Regions from separate parts of the Homo sapiens genome. Here region 1 is linked to region 2. The links are contacts of gene promoters, found by promoter capture Hi-C in blood cells and fetal thymus (Javierre and others, 2016). All regions are on one chromosome and are shown on one strand. Each heading gives the region's core, a stretch centred on a gene start or on the middle of the fragment in contact. The rest is flanking DNA. Distances are from core to core; before and after follow the strand shown.

What was found. Contacts are between HindIII fragments. The CHiCAGO score rates a contact against its expected background, and 5 or more counts as called.
Region 1: a contact is called between a fragment that was not itself captured here and the fragment with the promoter of VPS33B in region 2, in 1 of 17 cell types (total B cells). The highest score is 5.9, in total B cells.

What each region holds. Positions count from the first base shown.
Region 1 is chr15:90,437,246-90,440,823 of GRCh38, forward strand. It overlaps IQGAP1 (IQ motif containing GTPase activating protein 1), which reads left to right. Exons shown (of 38, transcript NM_003870.4): 6 at 2,087-2,154; 7 at 3,257-3,370. Among named protein-coding and RNA genes, the nearest start is that of IQGAP1, 51 kb to the left of the region's middle. RefSeq lists a silencer at 1-19. The HindIII fragment of the contact is 189 bases long and covers 1,198-1,386 here.
Region 2 is chr15:91,020,722-91,024,305 of GRCh38, forward strand. It overlaps VPS33B (VPS33B late endosome and lysosome associated), which reads right to left and starts at 1,873. Exons shown (of 23, transcript NM_018668.5): 1 at 1,433-1,873. The coding sequence starts at 1,528. VPS33B-DT (VPS33B divergent transcript) reads left to right here and starts at 1,901. Exons shown (of 4, transcript NR_110104.1): 1 at 1,901-2,019; 2 at 2,592-3,250. RefSeq lists enhancers at 957-1,573, 1,428-1,837. The HindIII fragment of the contact is 24,262 bases long and covers 1-3,584 here.

The DNA of each region.
Region 1 (3,578 bases), core at 42-2,541, 580 kb before region 2:
AAGGGGGAAACCTGCCCCCATTGATCCAATCACCTCTCACCAGGCCCCCACCTGGGGATTACAATTTGACATGAGATTTGGACAGGGACACAGACCCAAACCATATCAGCAACATTCTTGAACTTTCTTAAAATTTCTTGTTCGCTATTTCCAAGTAGGAATAAATGAGAAAGAAATTCTTGGAGAAAAATATTCTCTTAATTAAGAATGCAGATGTGATGTATTAGTGAGAAAAATATATAAAAAATATATAAAAATGTATAAAAATATATAGAAAGTTATTAGTTATTTTGCTTTGGAATTTCTTTTTTAAAGAGGCAGGGTCTTACTCTTTTGCCTAGGCTGGAACGCAGAGGTGTGATCTTGACTCATTGTAACAACCTCCCAGGCACAAGCTATCCTCCTGCCTTAGCCTCCCAAATGGCTAGGACTACAGGCATGCACCACCATACCTGGCTAATTAAGAAATTTTTTTTGTAGAGACAAGTCTTGCTATGTTGCTCAAGCTGTTTTGAATTCCTGACCTCAAGCTATCCTCCTGCCTCTCTTTCTCAAAGTACTGGAATTACAGGTGTGAGCCACTACACCCAGTCTGGAGAATTTTTTGAATACATTTAAAATCTTCTGAGACAGGCGCTTTATATATCCATCTTGAGTCTTTTACCTGAAAGAAAAGCATTTAATCATATACACATGACTTATACTTGCACTTCTCTGAGAAAATGTTTAGCTTCTGTGGATGTATAAATTCTAGTGTGTTTTGAGAATACTTGATTTTTGTTTTTCTATTATACATTTGGGTTTATTATATACAATTTAAATTTTGATCAGTTCTGTGATTGCAGTGTACATGATGCGTGTTTGTATTTAGATGATATTGAGGTTTATAGATTATTTACAAAAACTGTATACCACTTTAAGTTTCTATGATTTATTTCTTATATATTTCTTATTTCCCTGCTTACTTTAAACTGTCAATATCTTGCTTTTGTCAGTATCTGTAAAGTACCCTTCTGATCTCTTCTAATTTATTGATTCTGATCAGTTAGGGCTTTAGAATCCACTTAATAACACAGGCTTATGGACATTAATTTATCCGTCCATCCATCTGTCAAATATTGATTAATGTTTATTAATATATGCTAGGCTCTGGGTAAACATTAGTGAATGAGCCCTGTATTGTCCCTGCTTTCATGAAGCTTAGAGTCTAGTTGATTTTTTTTTAAGTTTAAAAAGTAAAAATAATTTTCACCAACCTGATAATTAAAAAGTAAAAATATATGAAATATTCTTTATCTAAAACTGTTAAATTACCTGGATTAAACTTTTCCATCAGTAATATGAATTCAGTTTAAGTAAGATTTGCCATCTGAATCATTTTTATGAAGCTTTTCTAAAATGTCTTATTATTTAAAACTTATTGATTACAGGAAGGCAAACAAATGAAGAGACACTTCACATTATATTAACATTAATGTTAACATCTTTTTTTTTTTTGAAACGGAATCTCACACTGTTGCCCAGGCTGGAGTACAGTGGTGTGATCTCGGCTCACTGCAGCCTTTGCCTCCCAGGTTCAAGCAATTCTCCTGCCTCAGCCTCCTGAATAGCTGGGATTACAGGCACATGCCACCACGCCTGGCTAATTTTTGTATTTTTAGTAGAGACAGGGTTTTGTCATGTTGGCCAGGCTGGTCTCAAGCTCCTGATGTCAGGTGATCCGCCCACCTCAGCCTCCCAAAGTGCTGGGATTACAGGCATGAGCCACTGTGCCTGGCCATTAACATCTAATTATGCATTGAGTTTGTGCCAGAACCGGGACTTTAATTTGTGCCTACTGATTTCTCCCAGTCCAGTGCTCTTTGCATTGTGTTATGTGACTTTTTAGGACAATGTTGTCATGTAAACTAAAAAAAAAAAACTGAGGTAAATAGCGTATTGTAACTACAAAGGAGACTGTCGTAGGTACTGGGAGTCTCAGTGTTCAGAATACTTCTATTTTATACTTCATGCTGATTTTCGCCTTTTAAGGGTGGCAGCTAGGCACAGCTGGGAGGCCTAACCTTTTGCATATTGTATCTTCTAGTTTGTACCTGTTCAAGCTAGGCCTGGCCCCTCAGATTCAAGACCTATATGGAAAGGTTGACTTCACAGGTAAGGAGTTAGATACTTGGCAGGAAATGCTTGAATTATGTGGAAATAGCCTGGAGAGCCAGCAGTACCAATTTTGAAGACCTAGGGCTTTAAAAATACACTGGCAGTGGAGGTGAAAAAAATACGAATAACTTGCTTCTCTAATGTGGGGTAAAGAACACTAAACTTGAAATTTCAAGCTCTGTTCTCTCACTTAATAATGTGAACATGATTAGTGAGTCTCAGTTTTCTTATATGTAAATTGGGGATAACATTAACATATATAAAACATAATAATGTTAACACATAACACTAAATGTTCGGGTATGTTGAAAAAAGCTTTATAACTATCTTTCCCTTTCCATTCCAGCAAGCATCTGTTGTGGGCAAAGCAAGAGGGAGAGTGGGGAGTGAGATGACACAAAGATGCCAATTTAGTAATTTTAAAATTTAAGCTTATTTGGGTGGGTGTTTCTATGTGTATTTGCTATAGCCAGATGCTTGAAGAGATGAGGGGTTGGGGAGAAAAAGGGCAGTGGTAATACTGTTTAAGGGTAAGATAGATTCAAGTCTTTCAAAGTGGTGATTATTTTGTAGGCTTGAAAGTTTAAAAATTGGTAAGAAAGTTTTTGTCCATGATATTTTTTCCTTCCAGGGAAGTTATTCACCAGACCTGGGGAAAGGACCAGACCTTACATGTTTTCTTTATCATTTGGCTTTCTGCCTTAGAAATGAAATTGTTGAATAGCAGCTAATGATTGTAAAGACTGAGATAACTGACTTAGTTTGTGATTCACTTATTGTTGAGCTCACGTTAAAGCTGTTCCATTTATAAGTTCATTGTAGGAAATGCCATAAGTAGCAATTTTGAAAAACTATTTCCTGTAGGACCTTCTCACTTTATAGTTATTTTTGATGCCCTTGATAATAATAACGTTTGACTACATTTTATATACTAGTTACTGTGTTAAGTGCTTTCCATACATTGTATCTTTATATCCTTATAAAACCCTAAAAGGTAAATGCCATTTTATCCCATTGCATAGTTGAGGAATATGTTTCCTTCTCTTGGTTATGGAAGGGTGCTTAGCTTGATTGACTGATTATTAATTCCCTCCTGTAGAAGAAGAAATCAACAACATGAAGACTGAGTTGGAGAAGTATGGCATCCAGATGCCTGCCTTTAGCAAGATTGGGGGCATCTTGGCTAATGAACTGTCAGTGGATGAAGCCGCATGTAAGAAGAGAGAAATTTTGTGGGTTCAACTGGGATTGTTGCCACTATTTCCAATAATTAATTCTATAGTGATGATCTAGGACATTATGAATCTTGCCAGCAAGTTTAAGTCCACAGATGTAGTTGTAAACACATAGTCTTCCATGCTGTTATTATTTGGAAATACATGATTAATTCTGATTAAAGTGAAAGCATTTAGAAAGGAAGT
Region 2 (3,584 bases), core at 623-3,122:
AATACAAACATTAGCCAGGTGGGCTAGCGTGCGCCTGTAATCCCAACTACTGGGGAGGCTGAGGCAGAAGAATCGCCTGAACCCGGGAGGTGGAGGTTGCAGTTAGCCAAGATCGCGCCACTGCACTCCAGCCTGGGCAACGGAGTGAGACTGTGTCTCAAAAAAATAAATAAAATAAAATAGAAATAAAATCTGGTCTAAGATGCCCTGCAGTTCTCATCTTGATCCATCTTCCTTCCAGTCCTCACAATGCAGCTGCAGTTCTACATTTCTATCTGCTGGATGTTACAAGCTATATTTCTTACGGGCATCTTAACTTCCCCCATCCAAACCCAAACAAATCAACTTCCCCCATCAAACCTGTTCCTTTTTCTAATTATTTTTCTCATTTCTATTCAATGTTAATACAACAAATATTTATTAAGCACATGGTGTGTGCTTGACTCTAAGCTAGGTACTCACTAGGTAGTGTTGAACAAAACAAACATGATCCCTGCCCACCTTCCAGTCTAATGAGGAATACAGACATAAAATGAATAACTAAATGATTACACAAGTAATCCATTAAAATCACAGTGGCAGTATTATTTTCCTAATAACCCAGGTTAAAAATCTCACTCATTTTTGCTTCTCCTTCAACATTTATAACCAATCAGTAAGTCTTTGAGTTTTCTTTCACCATAACTTAAAAATCCATCACTTTCCTTCATTCCCACTGCTACCAATTTTGTGTGGGCCTTTATTTCTTGTCTGATCTACGGTCTCCTAACTGGCCTTCTTGTTGCCCATTTACGCCACCACACACATCACTATTAGAATCATCAAGTATTGTCTCATGCCACAAATGGAAAAAAAATTTTTTTCAGTGGCTACTGTGTAACTGCTGATGGGTGTCTTCCCTTACATGCCTTGTCTTTCCCTGGTTTGCCAACTTTGCTCCTACCAATCTATCTGCCTGGAGCATGCTTAGTCTCCAAAGAAAATATGCTTATTACTCACACTCACTTCCTTGAAGCTCCTAGATCATCACCCCAACTAGAAATGATCACTTACTGTGAACTCTTCGGGTACACTAGCTCTATCACTCATTTACCACCTGTGTGTGATAATTTGTGCTTCATACAGCTCCTACTGGAGTGGTAAGATCCCTAATGGCAAAGATGTCTTAACCATCTTTCCGTCCCTAGGGATGCCTGGCACTAATGGTGTCTCCCTTGCCTGTATGCGGGGTTGGGGGGTGATTTCCATTAACTCTCTGGCCAGGTTCCAAACAGCTCTTACTACTCCCTGGATTCATTCTGGACCTGCTGGGGAAGCGCCAAGGACAATACCAGGGGCCAAGAACAAGATCAAAGGGGCACGGCAAGGAAGAAATGTGCATCCAATGAGTGCTAAACTGTAGATGCGATAAAGGCGTCAGGCAAGCACTGACCTGCTCCAGCAGATAGATGAGCTGGTCTCGAGCCAGCCTCTTCAGCATGGAGAAGTCAGGCAGCTCAGGGGCGTCCGGCCGATGGGGAAAAGCCATGGCAGCGGTCACCTGCGCCGCGGGGTGGAAGGACGCCCTTCGTTCTGAGAAGGCCGGCCGCAGCCCAGGGAAGCGCAAGGGGGGCTATCCTTCAGGCCTGGGCACCGACTTCCAGAGACCCCAGATGGGCCCTCGCTCCTCAGCAGCACTCCAGGAATGAATGGCCACCTCCAGGCAAGAGAGCTACTACCTCGGAGCAGCCTTGTCTCAGACCTGCAGCCACCGTGTCTCGACCCTCCCTCCCTGATCCACTCTGCCCGTCAGCAGGATTCCGGTCTACACCCCGCAGAGACTCCGCAGCGTACGAGGAGAACCCCGCCTTCTACCAGAAAAAGAAGCGACTTCCTAGATCTCCCGGAAGTCCCTTTCGCTCCCAGCGCTTCGCGTACCAGGAAGGGGACGGCGTCCTGAAAGGGACATTTGAAAAACGGAGGCAACGCGTCTATTAATTAGGTGGCGGCGCCTGGGGTCGCAGCACTCCAGAGGCTGAGGTGGGAGAATCGCTCGAGTCAGGGAGGCGGAGGTTGCAGTGAACTGCGATCGCGCTACTGCACCCCAGCCTGGGCAACAAAGCTAGACCTTGCCTCAAAAAAAAAAAAAAAAAAAAAAAAAAAGACATAATGAATGCATCAGGCTAGCTAACAATACCTCAACTCTGATCAATCATACCATCATATCATTTCCTGGTGAGATGCATAGGAAATACAGAGCATCACCTATTGCCAAAAATTGAACCTAATCAAGCCTCAAGATCTAACTACCAGTTTATAGGCTATATAGAGATTAGCAGGAATATGTTAAGACACCAAAGGTATGAAATCAACCATATCCAAAATGTAGGAAATTATATGGGACAAATGATCTGTCGTCTTCAAAAAAATGGCAAAGTGGGAAATGTGGGAGGGGAAAACACTTCAGAATAAAAGAGATTTAAGAGATGTATCAACAAAATGTTTCAATGTGTGGATCTTTTTTGGATAATAATTCAAAGATAACTGATTTAAGGAATTACTAAAACTTTTCGGGTATTGTATTTCTTTTCTTCTCTTTTTTTTCCTGACAGAGTCTCGCCCTTTTGCCTAGTGGAGGAGCTCGGCTCACTGCAAGCTCCGCGCCACAACCCCCCTGCCGCCCCAGGTTCAAGAGATTCTCCTGCCTCAGTCTCCCGAGTAGACTGGGATTACAGGCGAGTGCCACCATGCCCGGCTAATTTTTGTATTTTTGGTAGAGACGGGGTTTCATTATGTTGGCCAGGCTGATCTCGAACTCCTGACCTCAAGTGATCCGCCTGCCTTGGCCTCCCAAAGTGCTGGGATTACAGGCGTGAGCCACAACGTTGGGCCAGGTATTGTATTTCTATGTTATTATTATTTTTTGTATTTCTATGTCATACAGGCTTGTATTTCTGTTAAAAACAAGTCCTTATCTCTTTGAGATACATACTGAAGTTTTTACAGGTGAAATAATTTGGCCAGGAGTAATGGTTCATGTCTCTAATTCCCACCACTTTGGGAGGTCCAGGTCGGGGTCGGGGGGTTGCTTGAGGCCAGGAGTTTGAGATAAGATTGGTCAACTACAACACATAAAAAATAGCCAGGCATGGTGGTGGGCACCTTTAATCTCGATACTTGGGAGGCTGAGGCAGGAGGATCACTTGAGCCCAGGAGTTTGAGGCTGCAGTGCGCTACGATCATGCTACAGCACCCCAGCCTGGGCAACAGAGTGAGACACCGTTTGTTTTTTCTTTTCTTTTTTTTTTTTTGAGACAAGGTCTGGCTTTATCTATCACCCAGGCTGGAGTGCAGTGATATGTTCTGTCTCTTTTTTTTTTGAGATGGAGTTTCGCTCTTGTTGCTCAGGCTGGAGTGCAATGGCACGATCTCAGCTCACTGCAACCTCCACCTCCCAGGTTCAAGCGTTTCTCCTGCTGCAGCCTCCTGAGTAGCTGGGATTACAGGCATGTGCCACGCACCCAGCTAATTTTGTATTTTTAGTAGAGACAGAGTTTCTCCATGTTGGTCAGGCTGGTCTTGAACTCCTGACCTCAGGTGATCTT